2 separate regions of the Homo sapiens genome follow, and region 1 is linked to region 2. Evidence: promoter capture Hi-C in 16 types of primary human blood cells and fetal thymus (Javierre and others, 2016). All regions are on one chromosome and are shown on one strand. The core of a region is centred on a gene start or on the middle of the fragment in contact, and the rest is flanking DNA. Distances in the headings are between cores, read along the strand shown. Region 1 has its middle 10 kb from the start of VHRT. Region 2 holds the start of PHETA1 (PH domain containing endocytic trafficking adaptor 1).

Region 1 (6,024 bases), core at 1,101-3,600, 420 kb before region 2:
TCATAGCCCCGAAAAAGAAAAAAAAAGAAAGATGAGTGTAAGGAAGAAAAAAATTATCTGGAGTTCCACTACCCACAAATGAGCATGGTTAACATTTCTTCTAGACTTCTAATGTATTCAGACACATGCACTTTCCGCCCCCATACTGTACATATTTTCTCTTAATCTGCATCTTTTTCACTTAAAATATGTCATGCACACCTCGGCATGTCAATAAATATAGAAGAATGTCGTCCCTTTTAAAGTTTGCATAGTCCACGGTTGTGCCAGCATTTATTTACGAACCTCCTCTTACTGGGGGTTGTAGGTTGATTTAAACTTTTGTCTGATTATTAGCCATCCTCTATTGCTTGCCCTTGTATGTATTTCATCTGACTACTGTTTTATACTTAATTCCTAATAGTGTAATTGGGGGGTCATGGAACTTTTTAAAAAAAGATTTCATGCATAGAACCAAACTGCCTTCCAGAAAGATGCTAATTTACACGCTCAACAGCTATATATGATATTATCCCACACACCACTAAAACTGCTCACTAGAGAGATTGGATATATTTCCAAATTGGTTTTTAGCCATTTTTATTTCTCCTCCTCATCCTAATTCTTCTTATTTTGCATTGCATGTTTCTATCTTTGCTTATGTTTTTAAAAACTGGCAATATAAAGCCGTTATTTTTGCAAATATTTTTCCAGTGTTCTATTTGTCTTTGAATTATCTTGTTTATTGTGGTAAAATACACATAACATAAAATTTACCCTTTTAACCATTTTTAAGAGTCCAGTTCAGGCCGGGTGCGGTGGCTTATGCCTGTAATCCCAGCACTTTGGGAGGCTGAGGTGGGGTGGATCACTTGAGGTCAGGAGTTCGAGACCAGCCTGGCCAACATGGTGAAACCCTGTTTCCACTAAAAATACAAAAAAAAAAAAAAAAAAGCTGGGTGCGGTGGTGCATGCCTGTAATCGCAGCTACTTGGGAGGCTGAGGCAGGAGAATCTCTTGAACCTGGGAGTGGAGGTTGTAGTGATCTGAGATCACAACACTGCACTCCAGCCTGGGCGACAGAGTGAAACTCAAAAAAAAAAAGAGTCCAGTTCAGTGGCATTAAGTACATTGACACTGTTGTGCAACCATCACCACCATCCATCTCCAAAACTTTCATCACCAAAATTTGAAACTGTGCACCCATTAAACAGTAACTCTCCATTCTCCCTCCCCCAGCCCTTGGTAGCCCTTATTCTACTTTCTGTCTCTATAATTACTCCAGGAATCTCACATAAGTGAAATCATACAATATTTATCTTTTTTGTGTGTCTGGCTTATCTCACTTAGCATGATTCTTCAAGTGTCATTCATGTTGTAGCCTATGTCAGAACTTCCTTCCTTTTTAAGGCTGAATAATATTTCATTGTGTGGATAGACCACATTTTTGCTTATCCATTCATCCATCGATGGACACCTGGATTGTTTCCATCTTTTGGCTATTGTGAATAGTGTTGCTGTGAACATGGGTATACAAATATCTTTTTAAGTCCCTGCTCTCAATTCTTGTGTGTATATACCTGGAAACGGATATCTTTAACTTTTAATGTTGTCTGTGACTCTTTTTGGTATGCAGAAGCTTTACATTTTAAAATACTCATCTATCAATATTTTTCTTATTGCTTTGGCTCTGGGTTCATTTCTATACTATTTTTAGAGACCTCTAGGTAAAGGTTCTATTTATTCATTACTGTGTAACAATGTACCCCATAACTTAGTGGCTTGAAATAAATAATAATCATTTATTTTGGTTGTGAATCAGCAATTTGGACAGGACTTAGTGGGGTCAGCTTGTCTCTGTTGCATGGGGCTTCAGCTGACACAGCTCAATGTGGGTGGGAAGATCCACTTCCAAGATGGCTCACTCACGTGGCGTCTTGGTGCTAACCATTGGTTAGGAGCTCAGCCTAACCTCAGGCATTAGACTGAGAACTCTGGTTCCTCTCCATCTGGGTCTCTTCAAAGGCTACTTGGGCTTCCTCACAGCATGGTGGCTGGGTTTCAAGATTGAGCATCTCAGTAAATCGAGGCAGAAGTATACGGTATTTTTGTGACCTAGCCTCAGAAGTCACATGGTATCACTTTTACTGTACTCCACCAGTCAAGAAAGGCATAAATGCCAAACCAAGTTCAAGTGGGGATGGAACATAGATTCCACCTCTTCATGGAGGAGTTGCAAAGTTCCAGAAGGGCATGTGGGCTGGGAAATATTACTGCAGACATTTTTTGGAAAATATAATGTGCCAAGCTCACTCTCTGGCCACAACAATTCATATCCCTTTCACATGTAAAATACACTCCTCTGAGACCTCCCAGGAGTTTCATCCCATTACAGGATCAGGCTTAGTATCAAGGTCCAGGATTTTATTATCTAAATCAGGTCCAGGCCCACATTATGCTCCTCAGGTATGATACTTTGGGGACAGCTCTTTGAGTACTTTTCTTTTTGACCTGAACATCTGTAAAATAAAGAGCAAATTAACTGCTTCTTACACACTCAACATGCAGTCATGGGTCAGGCACAAGACAACTGTTACAGGCACTCACATTTAAAGAGGTAGAAAACAGGAGGTAAATCACTGGTCCATAACAATTCTAAAATCCAGCTGGGCAAATGTTGCTAAATGTTGCCAATTCCTTGACTGGGACTCAGGATTGTTCCCTAGATATGATTCTGAGTCACTGTTATTTTCCATAAAGTACAGCCATGTTTGCAGCTGAGGGTTTTTCTTGGCTTGCTTCCTACCTATAGAAGTTTGGAAAACCAAAGACCTCATTTTATTTTCTATTCTCTCAGTTCCTTTTAGTTCAAGCAGGCACAGCTTCCACCAGAACAATTCTATTAAAAACACTGTGTGTTTCCTACGAATCTTATTGAGATTCATGCCATTAAAGAAAAGCCAAAATCACAAATCTCTTTGAGATAAGCCCTTTCTACCGTGGGTTCCCATTGAGATCACTGTAGATCAATGCCTTTAAGATCTTAAAAAGGCTTGTCATATAATGGAAAGTGCCTGTGAGGCATGGCCTATAGATCCTTAGAGAAGCTTTTCTGTACTGGAAAGGTTCTATGAGGCACTGCCATAAATCTTTCTTGTGTCTTAAAGGAACTTACAATCCCACCTGGATTCAATATTTGGTCTGAGGCCCTTCCTTTTTTTTTTTTTTTCTGATGGAGTTTTGCTCTTGTCGCCCAGGCTGGAGTAGAATGGCATGATCTCAGCTCGCTGCAACTTCCGCCTCCCGGGTTCAGGAGATTCTCCTGCCTCAGCCTCCCAAGTAGCTGGGATTACAGGTGCGCACCACCACGTCCAGCTAATTTTTTGTATTTTTAGTAGAAATGGGGCTTCACCATGTTGGCCAGGCTGGTCTCAAACTCCTGACCTCAGGTGATCCACTTGCCTCGGCCTCCCAAAATGCTGGGATTACAGGTGTGAGCCACTGCGCCCAGCCATTTCCTTCTTTTTCTTTGCTGTGTCTCTCACCTCTCCATTTTCTAAGTCAAAGTTACTGAAGTAAAATTTATATAGAGAAAAATTTGCCCTTTTTAGGGGTATAGTTCTGTAAGTTCAACAAATGCATATAATTACGTAACTACCACTACAATCACCCAAAAAACTTCCCTTGTATAGGTTTGTAGTCATTTCTATCACCCACCCAGCCCCTGGCAGTTCCTCATTTATTTTCTGTCCCTGAAGTTCTGCCCTTTTCAGAATGCCATATACAGGGAATAATGCAGTATGTGAGTAGAATCCCATTGTATGGATATTCCATAATTTGTTTATCCATATTGGTGGATACTTGTCTATTACAAATAAAGCTGCTATGGACATTGATGCTTACAAGTCTTTGTGTGGATATATGTTTTTGTATTTGTTTGCTATGGGTGCTATAACAAATCACCACAAACGTAGAGGCTTCAAACAACACAAATTTATTATTTTATAGTTCTGGGGGTCAGAATTTTAAAATGAGTTTCACTGGGATAAGATCAAAGTGTCAGCACAGCTGCATTCCTTCTGGAGGCTCTAGGAGGAATCTATTCCCTTGCCTTTTCCAGCTTCTAGAGGCCACCTGAATTTATGGCTTGTGGCTCCTTCCTCCATCTTCAAAGGCAGCAATGACAAGTCAAGTCTTGTCACATGATGTCACTCTCACACTCACTCTTCTGCCTCCCTCTTTCACTTATAGGGACCCTTGTGATGACATCAGGCCCACCTGGATAATCCAGAACAATCTCTCCATCTCAAGATCCTTAATCTAATCACATCTAAAAAGTCTCCTTTGTCATGTAATTTAACATGTTTATGGGTTCCAGGGATTAGGGCATGGACATCTTCAGGGGCCATTATTTTGCCTACCACAGCTTTCTTTTCTCTTGGGTAAATACCTAGGAGCAGAATGGCTGGATCCTGCAGCAGGTGTTTAACTTTTTTAAAAAAATTGCCAAACTGGTTTCCAAAGCGCTTGTACTATCTTACATTCCCATCAGCAATGTACAAGAGTTCCAGTTCCTCCACATTCTTCCCCAGCATTTGGAATGGTCAATATATTAGATTCCAAGGGTTGCTGTAATTAATTGCCACAAACTGGGGGTCTTAAAACAAGAGAAACGTGTTTTCTCACAGCTCTGGAGGCCAGAAGTTTAAAGTCAAGAGTCAGCAGGGTTGATTCCCTCTGGAGGCTCTCAGGGAGAGAGCTTCTTGCCTCTTCCAGCTCTGGTGGCCACAGATATTCCTGGGCTTATATATACATCACTCCAATCTCTGTCCCTGGCTTCACATGGCATTCTCTTCTCTGTGTGTCTCTGTGTCTTCATGTGGCCTTCTTAAGGACAACAGTCAGTCAGTAGATTTAGGGCCTACCCTAATCCACTATTACCTTGCTTTAACTAATTATCTGAAAATATCTTATTTCCAAATAAAGTCACATTCTGAGGTTCCAGTGGACATGAATTTGGAGGCGACCCTATTCAACTCAGTATAGCCAGTCTTTTAAATTTACCATTCTAATAGGTATGTAGTAGTGTCTCATTGTGGTTTAAATTTGCATTTTTGTAATGACTAATAATGCTAAACAACTGGTCATGTGTTTATTTGCCATCTTGTTTGGTGAAATGTCTGTTCAAATCTTTTGCCCATTATAAAAGCTGGGCTGTTTATTTTCTTATTATTGAGTCTTGAGAGTTCTTTATGTATTGTGGATACAAGTTTTTGTTTTTCTTTAATTCAGATGTGTAACTTGCAAACATTTTCTCTCAGTCCATGGCTCACATTTCCATTCTCTTAAAAGAGTTATTCAAAGAGCAGAAGGTTTTAATTTTGATGAAGATCACTTTTTCAATTTTTTTATGGCTCATGCTTTTGATAGTGTGTCTAAGAACATCCCGTTTGCCTAACCCAAGGTCACAAAAATTTTCTTTTTTTTTTTTTTTTTGCCATTGATTTATCTTTATTATAGTTTAATGGAACAATTTGATAAGAAGACATATCTAATATAGCTTAGATGAACAGCTTATACAGGTTCAGTATCCCTTATCTGAAATACTTTGGACCAGAAGTGTTTGGGCAGATTTTGGAATATTCGTATTATGCTTATCGGTTCAGCTTCCCTAATCTGAAAATTAAAATTCAAAATGCTGCAGTGAGCATTTCCTTTGAACAACATGTTGGGCCTCAAAAAATTTCATATTTCCAGTGTGTGTAGATGGTGTCACCTGGGGCTTGAGTGGCTACACATGAGTATCAAAGACAATGGCCAAGAACAAATTAAGTGGGCAGAAGTATAGGAATGTATTCACATTGCCGCCAAAAAAACTTTAAAGCTAAAAAGAAAGTAAAACCAGTTACCACTAATTTTTTTTTTTTTTTGAGACAGAGTCTCACTGTGTTGCCCAGACTGGAGTGCAGTGGCACGATCTCGGCTCACTGCAACCTCCACTTCCCGGGTTCAAGCGATTCTACTGCCTCAGCCTCCCGAGTAGCT
Region 2 (6,729 bases), core at 363-2,862:
GACACAGGGAGATTCAATAAGTTGGCTAGAGGCATACAACTGTGCCCAGAATCACATGCTCCAGGCAAGCCACCCAAATAAAGGGGCTGATCTTGGGGTCTCTCCACCCCATCAAGGCCAAAGGAATAGCAACTTCCCTCCTGCTCAGCAACCCTCCTCCCCCGACTGCCTAGATAGAGGCCAAACTGGTTCAAGGTCACCAGCAGGCACAGGACCCAGCTCTGCCCATGACCCCTGCCTCCACCAGAACTGGGAAGACAGGAAGCTGCAGGGGCACAGGCGCCAGCCTTGCCTGGAGCGAAGGCCTGGCCCCTGCCTTATCTCCCCACACTGTTTTCCAAGAAGTTCAGAGTCCACTGTGGGCACTGCTGCTGATTCAACAGCCCATGGCCAGACAGGAAGCTGGAGGGAGCCTGGCCCAGCTCTGCTCCCAAGGCAAAGTTCCTGCCTCCGCAGGTCCAGGCTGGAGGACCTTGGACAAGTCGTTTCACCTTTCCAAGTCTCAGTGTCCTCATCTGTTAAATTGGGCTGTGTGGCGAGGGTTCATGAGCTAAAAGAAGGAAAACCCACTGGCAAACTATGGGAAATGGATTGCAAATATTAGCTGCTGTGAGTCGGAGTTTTTTCTCAGCCTCATCTGCAAAATGGTGACGTTAACTTCCATCCCTCTAAGGGCTGAGTGAATTGACTCCTGAAGAGTCATTTTGCAAAATACTTGGTGGGTAGTGAGCTTTCAGGGAAAGAGCTGTCAAAAAGGCAAATAATTCATCCAAGATCTCCAGGGGCACAGCTGGCCCCGGAACCCAGGTCTCCTGGGAGACTGAAGCATGGCATTTTGGCACTCACATCAACGAAAAGAAGCCAGTACCGCAGGTCCTGGGGTTGAATCCAGCTGCCCTCAGTGTCCCCCAGCAGCGGGCGTGGGGAAGAGGGTGTGGCAGGCACAGGCTGAAAAACATGTGTGCCAAGAACACTAAAGAGCAGCCTGGCCGTCACCGCCCCAGCAGGGACCCCAGAGACACGCCAGCACCGCCGTCCAGACACAGGCAGCCCCCTTGTCCACGGCAGGGGCTGCTGCTCCAGGTGTGGCCCTGCTCCCGGCTGCTCTCTGTCCCTTTGTGTGTTGTGCGTGGGAGCTCTCTTAAGTTCCTTAAAGGACAGCCAGAGCCCCAGATGGGTGATCAGCGGCAGAATGGGGGGCTTATCCGCAGTCCCCACCAGCGGCAGACGTCCCTATGGGCTGAGAGAGGGGAGGGTGGTCATTGGCCAAGTTCGCCTCGGCAGCTGGAGAAGTCACCACTGGTGCGGAGTCCCAGCGGGGAAGATCCCCGCAACGCGCTCTCCAGGTGGCCGGGGGACCCCGAGGCCCAGGGCGGCCCGACCCGGGTCCCATGTCCTCGTGCATGTCCCCCCGCCAGGCCCGCCTTACCTCGCAGCGCAGGCCTAGGGCGGCGACGGGACGGGAGGCGCGAGGTTGCGGGGTGGCCCGGCCATGGTTCGGGACTGGCCCGGTGGCGGCGACGGCGGCGGCAGCGCTTTGTCTCCTGGGCGGCCGGGCCGGCGCAGCCGCGGGAGAGCGCGGATCCGACGGAAGGAGGCGGGAGCAACCGGACAGTCCGCGACCCACGGGCGCGCCCCTTTAACCCTTCCCAGCCTGCTCGCGCCGGGCCCGCCCCCGCGTTCTTCCCACCTCCCGATTGGCAGGCCCCGAACCGGCACGCCCCCGTGAGCCCGCCCTCGAAATCACTCTTAAAGGGTCCGCTCCTGGCTCGCGACTCCCCAGTTCCCTAGCCCAGAAAAGCGGATTGGAGCCCGGGAAGCTCATTGCGATTCCAAAGGTAAGGACTGGCCCAGGTCGTGGATTAGCCTGCAAAAGCATTTGGGGGTCCTGGGCGGGCCATTCGCTGAAGTCCTAGGCTTAAGTCCGAACTCCCCCCAGGACGAGGCAGGAGGATTGCCTGAGCCTAGTAGTTCAAGACCAGCCTGGGCAGCAGAGGGAGACCACCATCTCTACAAATAATAAAAATATTTGCTAAACCTGGGTTGCCAGGTTTAGCAAATTTAATGCCCAGTTAAATTAGAAAAATAGCTCTAATTCCTGAAAAATGTGTGAGTGGCAGAAAAAACAGCTGAATCCAGGACATTTGCGTACAGCACTGTTCCATACGGACAGGGCGCCTCGCAAGCTTCCCCTGGCTCCAGGTGAAGAGAGGAAGTTCTGGAATTAGGCAGACTTGAGTTCGAGTCGCACTAGGCCACTGAACACTGTGTGAGCTTAGAGAAATCATTTCACTTCTCTAAGCCTCCGTTTCCTCATCCGGAAAATAAAGACCATCATGATATGTAAAGTGCACGGCACAACAGAAAGCTCTCAAGAAATAGGAATTGCTGTTGTTTTTGCCCTGCCCACCTCCTTGAACCCTTCCTTCCTGTTCCTGCCGCCTCTTCTCCACCACCCGCCACCTCCCAATCACTATTAAGTCCTGGCCTGAAAGCAGGAAGAACAGGACAGACCAGGGTCAGCTCTCCATTGTACAGCCTCTCACTAAGCGCCTACTGTGTGCCAGGCACTGTACCTGAACCAGGTAAGCAGGTGCAGCCAGGAATCAAGACAACACAAATGAGTTCTGGAAGTGATTCATGCTAGGACTGTACGCTAAGGCAATGGGGCAGAAAGCCTGGGAGTGCAGTTTTTTTGTTTTTGTTTTTTGTTTTTTGTGTTTTTTTGTCACCCAGGTTGGGGTGCAGTGGCACAATCACAGCTCATTGTAACCTGAACTCCTGGGTTCAACCGAGCCTCCCACCTCAGCCTCCCAAGTAGTTGGGACTACAGGTGTGTACCACCACACCCGGCTAATTTTTTTTAATTTTTTGTAGAGATCGGGGGGGTCTTGCTATCTTGCCCAAGCTGGAAGTGCAGCTTTTAGACAAGGTGGTCAGGGAAGGCCTCTCTGAGGACAGACCTGGAGGAATGAGGGAGGGAGCCATGTGGTTATCTGGGAGAAGGAGGTCCCAGGCAGAGGGAACAGCAAGTGCAAAAGCCCTGAAATGGGGCCATCCTGGGCATGTTTGAAGAACAACGAGGAGACCAGTGGAGCCAAGTGAGCAATGGGAAGAATAGTAGGAAAATAGGTCAGCTGGCTGGGCGCAGTGGCTCACGCCTATAATCCCAGCACTTTGGGAGGCCGAGGCAGGTAGATCACTTGAGGTCAGGAGTTCGAGACCAGCCTAGCCAACATGGTGAAACCCGGTCTCTACTAAAAATACAAAAAAAAAAAAAAAAAAAAATTAGCCAGGCATGGTGGTGTACACCTGTAATCCCAGTTACTTGGGAGGCTGAGACAGGAGAATCACTTGAACCCAGGAGGCAGAGGTTGCAATGAGCTGAGATTGCACCACTGCACTCCAGCCTGGGTGACAGAGCAAGACTCTGTCAAACAAAAAAAAAACAAAAACAAAAAAAAAAACACAATAGATCAGAGATTATTGGCAAAGCCAGAAAGCCAGGTGACCTAGGGGCTTAAGGACCAGAGGAAAGATTTTGCTTTTACTCTAAGAAGAATGAGGAGCCATGGGAGGGTTTTGAGCAGAGGAGGGACATGGTCTGTGTTAGATTTAACATGGTCCCTGACTGCTATGGGCAGGGAATGATAGTAGAAGCCAGGCGATCAGGGAGAACACTACTGCAGTAGTCCAAGCAAGTGATGGTGGTGGCTTAGAGTGGAGCAGTGGAGGTGGAGAGAAGTGGTTAAGTATAGATATATATTTAATGGATATATGTATTAGTCCGTTTTCACACTGCTGATAAAGACATACCCGAAACTGAGAACAAAAAGAGGTTTAATTGGACTTACAGTTCCACATGGCTGAGGAGGCCTTGGAATCATGGCGGGAGGTGAAAGACACTTCTTACATGGCAGTGGCAAGAGAAAGTGAGGAAGAAACAAAAGCGGAAACCCCTGATAAACCCTTCAGATCTCGTGAGACTTATTCACTATTATAAGAATAGCGTAGGAAAGACTGGCCCCCATGACTCAATGACCTCCTCTTGGGTCCCACTCACAACACGTGGGAATTCTGGGAGATACAAATCAAGTTCAGATTTTGGTGGGGACACAGCCAAACCATATCATTTTGCCCCGGCCCCTCCAAATCTCACGTCCTCACATTTCAAAACCAATCATGCCTTCCCAACAGTCCCCCAAAGTCTTAGCTAATTTCAGAATTAACCCAAAATTCCACAGTCCAAAGTCTTGTCTGAGACAAGGCAAGTCCCTTCTGCCTATGAGCCTGTAAAATCAAAAGCAAGCTAGTTACTTCCTAGATACAGTGGGGATGCAGGTATTGGGTAAATACAGCCGTTCCAAATGGGGGAAATTGGCCAAAACAAAGGGGTTACAGGGCCCATGCAAGTCTGAAATCCAGTGGGGCAGTCAAATTTTAAAGCTCCAAAATGATCTCCTTTGACTCCGGGTCTCACATCCAGGTCACGCTGATGCAAGAGATGGGTTCCCATGATCTTGGGCAGCTCCACTCCTGTGGCTTTGCAGGGTACAGGCTTCCTCCTGGCTGCTTTCACGGGCTGGTGGTGAGTATCTGTGGCTTTTCCAGGCACACAGTGCAAGCTGTCAGTGGATCTACCATTTCAGAGTCTGGAGGATGGTGGCCCTCTTCTCACAGCTCCACTAGGCAGTACCCCAGTAGGGACTCTGTGTGGGGGCTCTGAACCCCACATTTCCCTTCTGCACCACCCTAGCAGAGGTTCTCCATGAGGGCCCTGCCCCTGCAGCAAACTTTTGCCTGGGCATCCAGGCATTTCCAAACATCTTCTGAAATCTAGGCAGAGGTTCCCAAACCTGAATTCTTGACTTCTGTGCACCCACAGGCTCAACACCACATGGAAGCTGCCAAGGCTTGGGGCTTCCACCCTCTGAAACCACAGCCTGAGCTCTGTGTTGGTGCCTTTCAGCCATGGCTGGAGCAGCTGGGACACAGAACACCAACTCCCTAGGATGCACACAGCACAGGAACCCAGGGCCTGGCCCACAAAACCACTTTTTCCTCCTGGACCTCTGGACCTGTGATGGAAGGGGCTGCCAGGAAGTTCTCTGACATGGCCTGGAGACATTTCCTCCATGGTCTTGGGGATTAACATTAGGCTCCTTGCTACGTAATGCAAATTTCTGCAGCCGGCTTGAATTTCTCCCCAGAAAATGGGCTTTTCTTTCTATTACAATTTACTTCTTATTTTTTTCTTTTCTTTTCTTTTTTTTTTTTTTTTTTTTTTTTTGAGACAGAGTCTTGCTCTGTTGCCCAGGCTGGAGTGCAGTGGTGTGATCTCAGCTCACTGCAACCTCCGCCTCCTGGGTTCAAGCGGTTCTTCTGTCTCAGCCTCCTGAGTAGCTGGCACCAGGTGCACGCCATTGCACATGGCTAATTTTTTGTATTTTTGGTAGAGATAGGGTTTCACCATGTTGGTCAGGCTGGTCTTGAACTCCTGACCTCAGGTAATCTGCCCACCTTGGCTTCCCAAAGTGCTGAGATTACAGGCTTGAGCCACCGCTCCCAGCCTGCAAGTTACCTCTTGAATGCTTTGCTGCTTAGAAATTTCTTCTACCAGATACCCTAAATCATCTCTCTCAAGTTCAAAGTTCCACAGATCTCTAGGGCAGGGGCAAAATGCCGCCAGTCTCTTTGCTAAAACATAACAAGAGTCACCTCTGCTCCAGTTCCCAACAAGTTCCACATCTCCATCTGAGACCACCTCAGCCTGAATTTTATTGTCCATATCACTATCAGCATTTTGGCAAAGCCATTCAACAAGTCTCTAGGAAGCTTGAAACATTCCCACATTTTCCTGTCTTCTTCTGAGCCCTCCAAACTGTTCCAACCTCTGCCTGTTACAGTTTCAAAGTCACTTCCACATTTTTGCCTATCTTTTCAGCAACACTCCACTCCTGGTACCAATTTACTGTATTCATCCATTTTTGCACTGCTGACAATGACATACCCAAAACTGGGAACAAAAAGAGATTTTTTGGGTTTTTTTGTTTTTGTTTGAGATGGAGTCTTACTCTGTCACCCAGGCTGGAGTGCAGTGGTGCAGTCTCAGCTCACTGCAACCTCCGCCTCCTGGGTTCAAGCAATTTTCCTGCCTCAGCCCCCTGAGTAGCTGGGATTACAGCTGCCACCACGCCTGGCTAATTTTTTGTATTTTTAGTAGAGGTGGAGTTTCACCATGTTGGCCAGGCTGGTCTCGAACTCCTGACCTCTTTTTTTTTTTAAATACTTTAAGTTCTACAGTACATGTGCACAACGTGCAGGTTCGTTACATATGTATACATGTGCCATGTTGGTGTGCTGCACCCATTAACTCGTCATTTACATTAGGTACATCTCCTAATGCTATCCCTCCCCCCTCCCCCCACCCCACGACAGGCCCCGGTGTGTGATGTTCCCCATCCTGTGTCCAAGTGTCGAACTCCTGACCTCTTGATCTGCCCTCCTCAGCCTCCCAAAGTGCTGGGATTACAGGCGTGAGCCACTGCGCCCGGCCAAAAAGAGGTTTAATTGGATTTACAGTTCCACGTGGCTGCGGAGGCCTCAGAGTCATGGCGGGAGGTGAAAGGCACTTCCTACATGGTGGCGGCAGGAGAAAATGAGGAAGAAGCAAAAGCAGAAACCCCTGATAAACCCATCAGATCTCATGAAACTTATTCACTCTCATGA

Evidence for each region. The method cuts DNA at HindIII sites, captures the fragments that hold promoters and counts their contacts. A CHiCAGO score of 5 or more calls a contact.
Region 1: a contact is called between a fragment that was not itself captured here and the fragment with the promoter of PHETA1 in region 2, in 1 of 17 cell types (M1 macrophages). The highest score is 5.9, in M1 macrophages.

Annotation. Positions count from the first base shown.
Region 1 is chr12:110,943,734-110,949,757 of GRCh38, forward strand. No RefSeq gene overlaps it. Among named protein-coding and RNA genes, the nearest start is that of VHRT, 10 kb to the left of the region's middle. The HindIII fragment of the contact is 1,468 bases long and covers 1,617-3,084 here.
Region 2 is chr12:111,367,483-111,374,211 of GRCh38, forward strand. It overlaps PHETA1 (PH domain containing endocytic trafficking adaptor 1), which reads right to left and starts at 1,613. Exons shown (of 3, transcript NM_144671.6): 1 at 1,430-1,613. It overlaps LINC02356 (long intergenic non-protein coding RNA 2356), which reads left to right and starts at 1,779. Exons shown (of 4, transcript NR_187522.1): 1 at 1,779-1,838; 2 at 4,487-4,588. RefSeq lists a silencer at 1,204-1,783. The HindIII fragment of the contact is 8,438 bases long and covers 1-2,184 here.